Regions from separate parts of the Homo sapiens genome. Here regions 2, 3, 4 and 5 are each linked to region 1. Evidence: promoter capture Hi-C in 16 types of primary human blood cells and fetal thymus (Javierre and others, 2016). All regions are on one chromosome and are shown on one strand. Each heading gives the region's core, a stretch centred on a gene start or on the middle of the fragment in contact. The rest is flanking DNA. Distances are from core to core; before and after follow the strand shown.

Region 1 (2,703 bases), core at 105-2,604:
TTTCCGAATGGCTGCCTCATTAAGAATCGCAATTTAGCTGGATGTGTCCTCATCGGACTTCCCCAGCCTTCTACTCACTCTCACCTTGCCCCTACTCTCCCTACCTCCCAAGGGGACTGGAGCATGATTTTTCAGGGATTGTGGTGCACCTCTGCCATATGGTGGACATTCAAAGAAAATTTAATTACTAATGTGAATGGAAAGGATTTAGGAAGTGGGTGGGAAAACAGTCTCCTCTCATATTGGAAATACAGTTACTTCCCCTTTCAAAATAAATATAAGTATTTATATTTCAAAGTTAAATATAACTAGACGATAGTTGTACCCTATAGTGCAGTATGACAGGGAAGGTGTAGGCTTTGGTGTCAAACCAACCTAAGGACTGAGTCTCAGCTGTTGCGCATTGCACACCTGCAAAGACGGGTAATATTCTTTACTTGTAAGGTGGTTGGAAGAGCTGAACTGAATAACGTGGAAAGAGTCGATCACAGGGCTTTGTGCAGAATAGGAGGGCAGTATAAAGTAGCAGGGGGGCTATTAGTACTGGCTATTGTTTACTCATCCTATAAGCTGCTTATTCAGAAAACTACAGTAACTTTCCAAATAATTTGGGCAGGAAAACCTCACCACCTTTCATCTAGAAAGATCTAATCACTTCTTTGAACGCCATTCACCCAAGAGGGCACAACTCCTACCAACATGAAAAGCAGATCTTGTGAAAGCCCACTTGCTGCCATCTCCCAGCCATTTCTCCGACTTCAGACCGGTGAACATCGTGCATTAGAAAGTGTTGTTACATGTCCAAGGAAATCTACATATAGAACTTTTGCCACGGAAATGCTGAAGTCCTATTCTGACAGCGTGACTCCGATGTCCACTTGGCAGGCTTTGCGCAAAGAATTAAGGCGAGGGTGGAGAGGGTGGGTAGGGTGGGGACGGACAAAGTGAGAAGGGAGGCGGGCCAAGTGACCACACGTACATGAAGCCTCTCCAGTTATGGCCAAATCATTTTTTAAAAATAATTCCATTTCTTCCCCACCCTTTGGTCACTTCCTAACGCCGGCTGGGGAGTCACATGCTAAGCTCCAAAGTGAGCAACAGACACCCTCGTCCCAGGTCCCATGCTGGCAGAAGCGGACCCGGGCCGAGGGATCAGCCCTCCCACTTCCAGCGGAGGAGCCCTTCGCAACCCTAGCCTCCAGCCCGGGGCGAAGTCCTCCAGGCCCGCGGGGGCGCCCGCAGGCTCCGCCCCTTCTTCGGCTAGCTGCCCGTCCGTCCCGCCCCTGCTCCGCCCTTCCCGCCCCTGCTCCGCCCATCGCGCGGCGGCCCCGGGGGCGAGAGGGGGCGGAGCGTGGAGGCGGCAGCTGGAACCGCGCAGCGCACGGGAACGCGTCCCGCTGCTTGGGTCAGGTTCGCCGGTCGCGGGAGCCCCGCCGTGCAGTCGGAGGTGAGTACCGACGCGGCCCGACCCACGTCCCCAGGCGGGAGCGCCGTCCACCCTGTATCCCTCGAGAGTCGGTGCGGGCCTTTACCGAGGTGCCCGAGGCAGTGGCGGCACGGGGGACACGGAGGCGAGCTTGGGGAGGCTGAGAGGAGAATCGGGGACGTGTTTCTGGCGACTGACGTCTCCACCCTGTCCCCAGTCTATGTCATGCCGGGGAGAGAAACCAGGGATTGGAAGTGGCTTTCCTAGACCCTTCTTAGCCTTGGCTGTGCGTGCTGTCCTGAAAGTCCTTGCCTAGGGTGTGCGGCCAGTCCTGGGAGTCCTAACCCCGAGGGTGTGAGGCCCGCACTGGGAGTCCTCGCCCAGGCCCGGCTGGCTGGATAGGGAAACCCTTGCTAAAGTTGTGCGGGCAGATCCGGGAATCCACTCCAAGGGGTAAAGGGAAAATGGGATGAGGGGGAAGAGACCCTTCGTGGGAGGCTTGAACACAGAGCCCACCATGATAGATTCAGAGATCTAGAAAGGAGCTTGGGCTGCAGTTATGACCAAGTCATTTTTTTCTAGATTCAGCTAGCACATCATAATGGCATCTTCCTTCTTGCAACACATGTAACTCTCTTCCCTGGGGGACAACCTCTAGGACAGAAGTCCCCAAACTTTTCTGGTACTCAGTACTCCTTTACACTCTTAAAAATTAGTATCTTAAGGAGCTTTTATGTGTGTTATATCTATCCATATTTATAATATGTAAGTAAGACTGAGAAATTTGTACTATAATAATTCATTTAAAAAGAATAGTGAACTAATTATATCTTAACATTGCCTATTTTTATGAAAAAGAACTATATTTCCCAAAACAGAAAATGATTGAGAAGAGTGGCATTGTTTTACATTTTTGCAAATCTCTTTGATGTCAAGCGTAATTGAAGACAGCTGGATTCTGATAGCTGCTTCTGCAGTCTGTTGCAATATCACATATCATGTAGCCTCTTGAGACCTCCACTGTATACTCCTGAAAATGTGTGAATGAAAAAAAGCAAGTAACATTTTATTACTAGGAAAATGGTTTTGACTTTGGAGATCCCTAGGAGTTCTCTGCACCACACTTTGAGGATGCTGGTGTAGGAAATGCTTCAGAGGCTTCATTCATTGGGCCTGCTTCTTGTTTGTGATCCTTCCTCTGATTGGGAACACACACCACCTCATGCCATGGACAGTATTAACCTCTGGTATCTGGAACCAAGTTTGATCTCACTTTG
Region 2 (2,703 bases), core at 152-2,651, 620 kb after region 1:
GTCCTGCTTGTTAGGCCTAGTCCATTGTCTATAGTGTATTAGTGGCCAGAAAAGCAAGATCACATGGCACAATGTATAGCTAAAGGTATGGCAGGCAGTGAAGACTTTCAGGCACTTCATATTGCCATGCTAATCACCAGAACTTTTTCATCTTGAAAAACTGAAACTCGGCCAGGCACGGTGGCTCACACCTGTAATCCCAGCACTTTGGGAGGCCAACGCAGGTGGATTACCTGAGGTCAGGAGTTCAAGACCAGCCTGGCGTGGCGGAACTCGCCTGTAGTCCCAGCTACTTGGGAGGCTGAAGCAGAAGAATTGCTTGAACCCGGGAGGTAGAGGTTGCAGTGAGCCAAGATCACTCCACTGCACTCCAGCCTGGGCGATAGAGCAAGACTCTGCCTCAAAAAAAAAACTCCGTATCGATTAAATAGCTCCCTATTTTCCCTCCCCCACCTGGCAACCACCATTCTACTTACAGTTTTCATGAGTCTGACCACTCTAGGTACCTCATGTAAGTAAAATCAGACAGTATTTGCCCATTTGCGACTGGCTTATTTCACTTAATATAATGTCCTCAAGTTTCATCCACATTGTATCATGTGTAAAAAGTTCCTTTTTAAAGCTGAATAACACTCCATTGCATGTACACACCATACTTTATCCATTCATCCACCCGTGGATATTCCACCATTTGGCTATTGTGAATAATGCTGCTATGAACATGAGTGTATAAATATCTCTTTGAGATCCTGTTTTCACAATTTGCAATTGCAAGAACATGGAACCAACCTAAATGCCCATGAACTGATGAATGCATAAAGAAAATGTCGTACATATACACCACAGAATACTACTCAGCCATAAAGAAGAATGAAATAATGTCTTTTGAAGCAACTTGAATGGAACTGGAGGCCATTTTTCTAAGTGAAGTAACTCAGGAATGGAAAACCAAATACCACATGTTCTCACTTATAATTGGCAGCTAAGCTTTGGGTATGTAAAGGCATACAGAGTGGTATAATGTTCATTGGAGATTCAGAAGTGGAGAGAGTGGGAGGAAGATGAGAGATTTTAAAAAACTACATATTGGGTGTAACTATTACTCGGGTGATAGGTACACTAAAATTTCAGACTTCACCATTATACACTTCATCCATGAAACCAAAAACCATTTGTACCCCTAAAGCCACTGAAATTTGTTTTTAATGTGAAACAATTTTTAAAAATTCTTCTTTCAATTATTTTGAATATATACACAGAAGTGAAACTGCTGGATTATATGGTAATTCCATTTTTAATATTTTGAGGAACTGTCACACTGTTTTCCATAGCAGCTGGATGATTTTACATTTCTACCAATAGTGTACAAGAGTTCCAATTTCTCCACATTCTTGCCAACCCTTTTTTTTTTTTTTTTTTTTGAGATGGAGTCTCGCTCTGTCACCCAGGCTGGAGTGCAGTGGTGCAATCTCGGCTCCCTGCAACCTCCACCTCGCGGCTTAAGGCGATTCTCCTGCCTCAGCCTCCTGAGTAGCTGGGACTACAGGTGCCTGCCACCACACCCGGGTAATTTTTGTATTTTTTTTTTTTTTAGAAGAGATGGGGTTTCACCATATTGGCCAGGCTGATCTCAAACTCCTGACCTTGTGATCCACCCACCTCGGCCTCCCAAAGTGCTGGGATTACAGGTGTGAGCCACTGCGCCCGGCCGCTTGTTACTTTTTTTTGATAGCAGCCATCCTAATGGGTGTGAAATGGTATCTCATTGTGGTTTTGCTTTGTATTTCCCTAATGATTAGTGATGTTGATCTTTTCATAAGCTTCCTGTCTATTTGTATGTATTTGGAGAAATGTCTATTCAAGTACTTCATTTTTTAATGGGGTTATTTTTGTTTTGTTTTGTTGTAGGAGTTCTTTATATATTCTGGATATTGACCTCTGATCAAATATAAGATTCCCATTTCATAGGGTGCTTTTCACTCTGCTTGCTGGCTGTATCCCTGGATGCACAAAACTTAATTGTGAAGTACTTTAATTTACCTATTTTTACTTTTGCTGCCTGTCTTTTGGTGTTATATCCAAGAAAACATTGCCAAATCTGTCATGAAACTTTTCCCTTATGTTTTCTAAGAGTTTTATAGTTTTAGGTCTTATGTTTAGGTCTTTGATCCATTTTTGAGGTGTGGTTTTATTTTTTTGTTTTTTGTTTTTGTTTTTGTTTTTGTGAGACAGAGTCTTGCTCTGTTGCCCAGGCTGGAGTGCAGTGATGCAATCACAGCTTACTGCAGCCTTGACCACCCAGACTCAAACAATCCTCCCACCTCAGCCTCCCAAGTAGCTGGGACTACAAGCATGTCCCACCAAGCCTGGCTAATTTTTTTTTTAATAGAGACAGAGGTCTTGCTATGTTGCCCAGGCTGATCTTGAACTCCTGGGCTCAAGCAATCCTCCTGCCTCAGCCTCCCAAAGTGCTGACATTACAGGTGTGAGACACTGTGCCTGGCCTTGAGTTCATTTTCTGTACTATGTAAGGTAAGGCTCCAACTTCAATTTTTTGCATGTGGATACCCAGATTTTAACAATATCATTTGTTGAAAAGACTGCCCTTTCCTCACTGAATGGTATTGACATACTTACTGAATATCATTTAATCATTTATGCAAGGATTTACTTCTGGGATTTCTATTGTATTCCATCAGTCTG
Region 3 (2,703 bases), core at 130-2,629, 600 kb after region 1:
AGTAATATGAATATAGTAATGCCAATGAATTGTACACTTAAAGATGACTAAAATGTAAATTTTGTTATGTATATTATATCACAGTTTTTTAAAAACAAAATAAAAACTCTAAAATCTAGACTTATCATCTTATTGCTTAAATCAAAGAAATCACGGAGATCCACCTTGCTTGTATTCTTTGAAAGAAATCAGTCATTCCTTTCTGAATCCTTCTGGGCATAAGCCACAGGAAAACAAATTCTATACTTTTCTCTCATTTTATTTTCAAATCCTGGATCTACTACGCTGTCATTACAGAAGTCTATGATGTTTGTTTCCTTCAGAGTAATGGTCCTTAATCATTCTGGGGTTATAGACGCTTTTGAAGAATCTGATAAAAGCCACTGACCACAATTCTTTATCTGAGGATAATGAAGCTGCTTCATCTAGTTCATATATTAGGCTCTCGAAGATTTATATTTTGAGAGGAACAAAGAACCAAATATGACTGAATTATAGGCAGAAGTGGGAACTCAAAGCTTGCATGCAAGTCAGGCAGAGAGGTGGAAGCTTCAGCCCACCTGCTTTGGAAAAACTCCATCCCACTTCCCTGGGTCTCAGTGCAATATGTGCCCTCAGCAAGCCCAGGCTGAATCTATCTGCCCACCTGGACAGAACCAGGAGCCAGCAGCACTACCCACCTGGCTTACCTCATACTCGGAATGGCGTGGTAGCCCAATCGGAAGCGGAGTTTGCTGGACCCAGCAAAATCTACAATCACCTTTTCCCCCACAGTGTGCATATGCTTAAGGAGTTCAAGGTGTTCCCTGGCCACAGCCTTCAGACTGGAAATGGAGGTCCACGGTAAGACCAGCCAATGGTAACGGGCCTTTGGGTATTTATCCTTTATCACCACCACCTGCTCATCTTTGTAAACCTAGCAGAGGGATACAAGAGAAGGAAACAGACATCTACTAAGAATCTTCTGTGTGCCTGGTTGTTATATTCACTAAGTCACTTAATTCCCACAGTCTTGTGCAAATGGTTTTAATAGCCCAGTTTTGAGAGAGGAGAGCACTGAAATTCAGACAGGTTGAGTGTCTTGCACAAGTCATAGTTCCTAAGAGGGAAATCTAGGATTCCAACTCAGATGTGGTTGACTCCAGAGTCTGTTTTCAACCACCACACTACACAGAATACACAGAAGATGCACAGTACAAAATAGTTCCCAAGAATGTGATGTAAAATCTCTGTAGACATAAATTCAAAAGCATCCTTCTCCACTCCAACATGGCAGACTGTGTGACACGTACACGTGGGTTCCAGTGAGCCCTATTAGACCTGCCCCTTGTCAACAAGGAATATAATTGAAGTGGGACTCAAAGGCTCCTCAAGGATGATGCCTGTTTTTTTTTTTTTTTTTTTTTTTTTGAGATGGAGTTTCGCTCTTGTTGCCCAGGCTGGAGTACAATGGTGCAATCTCAGCTCACCGCAACCTCCACCTCCCGGATTCAAGTGATTCTCCTGCCTCAGCCTCTCGAGTAGCTGAGATTACAGGCATGCACCACCATGCCCAGCTAATTTTTTGTATTTTTAGTAGAGACAGGGTTTCTCCATGTTGGTCAGGCTGATCTCGAACTCCTGACCTCAGGTGATCCTCCCGTCTCGGCCTCCCAAAGTGCTGGGATTACAGGGATGTCTGACTGTTAATGCCAGGGCAGCACAGTACTACTGTCACAGTGTATTATCTCTGATGCTCCCCTGAAAGGAACCATACTAAGGTTAATGCAACTTCCCTTAAAGTACCCAGAAGTTTAAAAGGCACAAGGCAGAGGGGATATTCATTTGAAGAACTCAGCTTTCTCTCCAAACAATGACAGCTGCTACTTTATTGCCAATGTGAAAAGCCTCTTGTTCTCACAGAACAGCCCAATAAAATGAATCTCATTCAGAAAGACTGATATCCTTTGATTTCATTTGTAATTAAGACCTCTGTGGAGTGGTCATTTACAACATGAAATGTACTGAAATTCCAAAATTGTATTCTGACCTGCATTTTGGGGTCCTGCATAGAAATCTTCAAGCCTTGACTCCAGTGGCCCAGGGATTCCTAAAAAAAAAACAAAAAAAAAAACAAAAAAAAAAAAAAACAAGCAATGTAAATTACAAATGCCAATAATTAAATTTGGCAACAGTTAATACTGTGTGATAGCACAACTAAACTTGGAAATAAGCTTAGTTTTTGAGAATTAAACAAGATTCACTTGACTCTGCTTCACTCCATTGCCTTCCTATATTCTCTTTTTTTTTGAGACAAAGTCTCACTCTGTCTCACCCAAGCTGGAGTGCAGCGGCGTGATCACTGCAACCTCCGAAGTGATTCTCCTGCCTCAGCCTCCCAAGTAGCTGGGATTACAGGTGCCCACCACCACGCCCAGCTAACTTTTGTATTTTTTAGTAGAGACGGAGTTTCACCAGGTTGGCCATGCTGGTCTTGAACTCCTCACCTCAGGTGATCCACTGGCCTCCACCTCCCCAAGTGCTGGGATTACAGGCGTGAGCCACCACACCCGACCCTATATTCTTTCTTTTTTTTTTTGAGATGGGGTTTCGCTCTTGTTGCCCAGGCTGGAGTACAATGGCGTGATCTCGGCTCACTGCAACCTCTGCCTCCCGGGTTCAAGCGATGCTCCTGCCCAGCCTCTGGAGTTGCTGGGATTATAG
Region 4 (2,703 bases), core at 78-2,577, 560 kb after region 1:
TGCAGTACAGCTATGCTCCTGCCACTGCACTCCAGCCTGGGCAACAGAGCAAGACCCTGTCTCTGAAAATAAATAAATAAATAAATTTTTAAAAATCTTTAAATAGATTTTATGTTTCCAAGTCATTAAAGAACATGAGATGTCTTTCCATTTGTTCAGATAACATTTATAATTTTAATTGAGCTTTTATAACTTTAAATAGGTCTTATATCTTATTAATTTTACTGTCAAGGTGAAACTATTTTGATTTCTGAAATTTGCTTTAAAGTAGTACTACAGTAGGTAAGGTGGAGAGGCAGGATGAAACAAGAAGGGCAGAATATTGACGATTGTTGAAGCTGGTTATGGGTACTATTCTCTGGGTTTTTGTGGATGGTTTGGTATTTTGAAATTATACTCCCTGCTCTGTCGCCTGCCACCGCTCCCTGAGCCCGAGTGGTTCACCGTACCATGAAGACAGATGGCAGATGCCAGGAACTCGAGCCTCCAATCCCAGATGCTATGTCCAGCAAAGGCTCAGTGGTTCTGGCCTACAGTGGCAGCCCGGACACCTCTTGCATCCTCGTGTGGCTGAAGGAACAAGGCTATGACATCATTGCCTACCTGGCCAACACTGGCCAGAAGGAAGACTTCGAGGAAGCCTGGAAGAAGGCACTGAAGCTTGGGACCAAAAAGGTGTTCATTGAGGATGCCAGCAGGGAGTTTGTGGAGGAGTTCATCTGGCCGGCCATCCAGTCCAGCGCACTGTATGAGAACCGCTACCTCCTGGGCACCTCTCTGGCCAGGCCCGGCATCGCCGGCAAACAAGTGGAAATCGCCAAGCAGGAGGAGGCCAAGTATGTGTTCCACGGCACCACGGGAAAAGGAAATGATCAGGTCCGGTTTGAGCTCACCTGCTATTTGCTGGCCCCCCAGATAAAGGTCACCGCTCCCTGGAGGATGCCCGAGTTCTACAACCGGTTCAAGGGCTGCAATGACCTGATGAAATAGGCAAAGCAACATCGGGTTCCCATTCCAGTCACTCCCCAGAGCCCGTGAAGCATAGACGAGAACCTCATGCACATCAGCTATGAGGCTGGAATCCTGGAACCCCAAGAACCAAGTGCCTCCAGGTCTCTACATGAAGACCCAGGACCCAGCCAAAGCCCTCAACACCCCTGACATTCTCGAGATCAAGTTCAAAAAAGGGGTCCCCGTGAAGGTGACCAACGTCAAGGATGGCACCACCCACCAGACCTCCTTGGAGCTTTTCGTGTACCTGAATGAAGTTGCAGGCAAGCACGGCGTGGGCCGTATTGACATCGTGGAGAACCGCTTCATTGGAATGAAGTCCTGAGGTATCTGCGAGGCCCCAGCAGGGACCATCCTTCACCACACTCATTTAGACATCAAGGCCTTCACCATGTACCGAGAAGTGCGCAAAATCAAACAAGGCCTGAGCTTGAAATTTGCTGAGCTGGTGTATACCGGTTTCTGGCATAGCCCTGAGTGTGAATTTGTCCGCCACTGTAATGCCAAGTCCCAGGAATGAGTGGAAGGGAAAGTGCAGGTGTCTGTCCTCAAGGGCCAGGTGTATATCCTCGGTCGGGAGTCCCCACTGTCTCTCTACAACGAGGAGCTGGTGAGCATGAACGTGCAGGGGGATTATGAGCCGATTGATGCCACGGGTTCATCAACGTCGATTCCCTCAGGCTGAAGGAATGTCATCTCCAGAGCAAGGTCACTGCCAAACAGACCCCTGTACAATGAGGAGCTGGGGCTTCCCCAATTTGCAGATTTTTTCCCCCAAGTACAGGTGCTAATTGTGATAATTTGTCATTGTGACTTGTTTTCTCCAGCTGGCAGCATAGTGGGTCTGCCAGGCCCCAGCTTTGTTCCCTGGTCGCCCTGAACCCTGCAAACGTCGTCATCGAAGGGAAGGGTGGGGGCAGCTGCGGTGGGGAGCTATAAAATGACAATTAAAAGATTTTTTTAAATTACACTCCTAAGTATTTTAAGCTTGTATAAAACTGTAGAAAATAAAATAGTTTTCTAATTTCCTTTCAAAGTACTTACTGCTAATACGGAGAGAAGTTGGTGCTTTTTGTATATTTATCTTGCATCTGCCCACTTTTCCAAAATGACCTACAATTCAAATAGTTTATTACTAAAGTCCCTCGAGTTTTCTAGGCAAACAATGAAGTCACATAGACAAACATAAATAGTTTTATTTCGTCTTCTTCAAAGTTTATGGCAATTATTTTCTTACCTTACTTTGACAATGTAACATAATAATAGCACATGGACATCCTTTTCTAATTTCTGATTTCAATGAAATGATTTCAGAGTTTTGCTATTTAGAACAATGTTTGCTATTGGGTTTAGAGATACAGTCCTTATCCTAGATAAGTAGTTTCCTTGTATTGTTACTTAGACTTGTTTTTAATAGAAAAGTCATCACACCCTATTGGCTTAGAATTTTTATTAGGAATGGCTATTAAATTTTATAAAATGTTCCTCCAGTGTATATTGACAGGATCATATGGTTTTTCCTTTATAGTATTATCATAATTCATTACTAACGGTAATAGATGTCTTGATAGTGAACCAGCCTGTACACCTGAAATATATAGAATAGGGCATAATTAAAATACTCTATAGCAGTATATTATTATTATATAACTTGATTTTTATTAATACTTTATTTAGAATTTTTGCATCTGT
Region 5 (2,703 bases), core at 143-2,642, 540 kb after region 1:
TCCCCGAGTTACTGGCAGCATATCTGTATGGGTCCAAAATTCAACCGAGGGGCATAAAGCAGAAAAGAGACCAAGCCAAGTTTCAGAGAAGGAGTGGAAGTTTATTTAAAAGCCTTTAGAACAGGAAAGAAAGGAAAATTAGCTTGAAAGAGACCCAAGCAGGCACTGAAGGTCCAAGAGAGAAATGAGAGCAAAAGAAGACAGCAAAAGGGGCCTTTGACCTTGATCTTTATAGGTTCGCCTTTATAGGGGACTATATAGGCTCGCCTCTCTCCCAGGATTCTTCCCTTAGGGTGGGCTTTCCGCATGCCCATGCTTTCCTTACTCTTTGGAATTGAGCACACACAGTGAGTTTAGGGAGTTGTACACATGCCCATCTGAGGCTTTCTTCCTTTTCCAGTGGAGGGTGCCCCCAGAAGATCATATTTCACCATTTTTGTCTCTTAACACGCATGCCCAGGAAGTTGCTTCTCCCTGGGGCCTGCATTCAATTAGCATTTTGATGTTAACAGGTGTGAACCATCAGGAAATGGCCTCTCCCTGGCGCTGCCAAATTATAAGTTTTAGAGAAGCGATGCAATAATTGCCAAACCATCACCCGACATTTCTAGTGGGTGGAGGGAGAGCCCTCTCCTGCCCCACTCATGCCTAACTACCTGTAGCACTGTTACTAATACATCATCTTCATAACAAAGGAGAATAAAGAGTGAAACCTGTTCACAACATTTTCTGTGCTTGCCCTGGACTTTGAACTGCTCATCCAAGGTTCTCTGAATGTTTGGAAGTAGTTTAGCCTAGTGGTGAAATTCCTAAATTGTCGCCTTTCTCTACTTCATTTCTATCAGTGGGTCATTCCTTCACTACTAGAACATTTGACCTGCACAGCACAGGTAAACATAAGACTTAGAATCCCTAGGCAAGGCCATACCTGGTGGGGAGGATTCCGGTCCTGACAGCATAGGCATGAGAGTTGTCTGAAGCAGACACCATATAGGGCATGTTGAAGGGCTCGCACTGACTGCACTCACAGGGGGCCTCTGGATCCAGGCCATCTCTAAGCCTGGAAAGAAACAGAGCCGGTGAAGATGCTTTATTTCACTCTGCACACCAGACCACCATGATCAGGTTTTGAGAGGAGGATTTTTAATGGCATGCTGTATGGAAAACCACTGGTTATAGAGTGTTATCCAAATATCAGTACTATCCTCATTCCGTAAATGTAGGGGTCCCATTAATTTACTCTCAAAGGGATATATTTCCAGGTGTGGTGAGGAGGCCAGCCAAGGCTACATTTCCTAATTCCTGATACCTCTCCTCCCAGTCTCGCTCTAGTTTCCACCATTTGTTAAAAGTTTACTGGCTGACAGGATTTTTCTAATTTCTAATTTTCAGAAAAGCAAAATTTCCTTACAACATGTGATCTCTAGAGAGCAAATGCTCCAACTGTGCTCCTTACAGCTTATCTTTGGAATTACCAACATAAGAACATGATTTTCCCTAGAGATTTTAATGCTGACTCCAGAGACTCCATCTAGCTCATCTTTGAAATCACAGTGTGAAGCATAGGGCCACAGTCAATGTTCATTCGGCCAAGACTACATGCTTGGCACTGAGCTAGTCTGTGATTTCAAAATTAACACACAAATGACCAAACATATAACTCAAAATTAATATAACCCACTCTTTGGGCCTCCAGGTATGACTACAGATCCGATGCAAATCATTTGTGAGTATTTCTGATGCATTAAAAATCATTTTTTAAAGATGCTCAATAATACAACATTAGGGGAAAGCTGGGGAAATTTGAATAAGGTCTGCAATTTAGTTACAAGCATTGTACGAATGTTAATTTCCTGGTTTCATGTCCTGGTTAATTTCCTGTCAATGTTAATTTCCTGATTATGTAAGATGTTAACAGGGGTAGCAGGGTGAAGGGTATAAAGGAACTCCATTTAATTTTTGCAACTTTTCTTTAAGTCTAAAATTATTTCAAAATAAAAGGTCCAAAAATTCTTTTAAAAAGGATGCTCAGCTTTCAGGTGGCCCAGTGGCCTAGGGCGGCGGGCTACATCAGTCAGACACAGAGATGTGGAACCCTGCCCTTGTAGCTCCTCTCCACGCAGGATCTGCAGGCTTCCTCTTCTGCACTGTGTTCATTGAATGTTTGCCTCCCAGACTGACGGGGAGCTCAAAGGGACCCAAATTCTCAAAGAGAAGTTTTCTGGAGCTACAGCTATCCAAGTCACTGACATTTCAGGAGGCTGTAGGTGATGTATAAAATCCAAATCAAACCAGAAGAATTTAAAGAAACAAGAACTGTCCCTCAGCACCAGATGATTAATCAGGCACTAAAAAAGGAAAATCAAAGGGATGCACAGATGGTGGGTATTTACCTCTGTCCCCAGACACTGACCTCCATGCCCCCGGGGCTGTGTAGATGCAGCTGCCTAAAACTTCGGATGAACTTGACTGGAACCACTCTTTCCTACGCATTTGCAAAAAAAAAAAAAAAAAAAAAGTATCTGTTTTGTTCGTAGACATTTCCATACTACAATTAAAGAAGAATGTGTTATCTATTTAGAGGTTAATTAAAGGCAACAGACAACTGGTGGAGGAGAGAGGTGGGAAAAGATGTTCAACTCAAAAAACAGATGGAGATCTGAGCATAGGTGTCTGAAATGACTAAGGAAATGTAAAACTGGG

The links. The method cuts DNA at HindIII sites, captures the fragments that hold promoters and counts their contacts. A CHiCAGO score of 5 or more calls a contact.
Region 2: a contact is called between a fragment that was not itself captured here and the fragment with the promoter of ACO1 in region 1, in 4 of 17 cell types (erythroblasts, monocytes, M2 macrophages and 1 more). The highest score is 12.1, in erythroblasts.
Region 3: a contact is called between a fragment that was not itself captured here and the fragment with the promoter of ACO1 in region 1, in 15 of 17 cell types (erythroblasts, M0 macrophages, M2 macrophages and 12 more). The highest score is 15.0, in erythroblasts.
Region 4: a contact is called between a fragment that was not itself captured here and the fragment with the promoter of ACO1 in region 1, in 2 of 17 cell types (erythroblasts and endothelial precursors). The highest score is 6.7, in erythroblasts.
Region 5: a contact is called between a fragment that was not itself captured here and the fragment with the promoter of ACO1 in region 1, in 3 of 17 cell types (M2 macrophages, erythroblasts and M0 macrophages). The highest score is 6.0, in M2 macrophages.

Annotation. Positions count from the first base shown.
Region 1 is chr9:32,383,289-32,385,991 of GRCh38, forward strand. It overlaps ACO1 (aconitase 1), which reads left to right and starts at 1,355. Exons shown (of 21, transcript NM_002197.3): 1 at 1,355-1,447. RefSeq lists a silencer at 1,156-1,535. The HindIII fragment of the contact is 14,350 bases long and covers 1-2,703 here.
Region 2 is chr9:33,003,230-33,005,932 of GRCh38, forward strand. It overlaps a transcript of APTX not described here. Among named protein-coding and RNA genes, the nearest start is that of APTX, 3.0 kb to the left of the region's middle. The HindIII fragment of the contact is 833 bases long and covers 986-1,818 here.
Region 3 is chr9:32,983,942-32,986,644 of GRCh38, forward strand. It overlaps APTX (aprataxin), which reads right to left. Exons shown (of 8, transcript NM_001195248.2): 5 at 2,030-2,089; 6 at 690-916. Among named protein-coding and RNA genes, the nearest start is that of APTX, 16 kb to the right of the region's middle. The HindIII fragment of the contact is 1,664 bases long and covers 548-2,211 here.
Region 4 is chr9:32,945,495-32,948,197 of GRCh38, forward strand. It overlaps the pseudogene ASS1P12. Among named protein-coding and RNA genes, the nearest start is that of APTX, 55 kb to the right of the region's middle. The HindIII fragment of the contact is 1,338 bases long and covers 659-1,996 here.
Region 5 is chr9:32,923,969-32,926,671 of GRCh38, forward strand. It overlaps the pseudogene BOLA3P4. Among named protein-coding and RNA genes, the nearest start is that of APTX, 76 kb to the right of the region's middle. The HindIII fragment of the contact is 3,149 bases long and covers 1-2,703 here.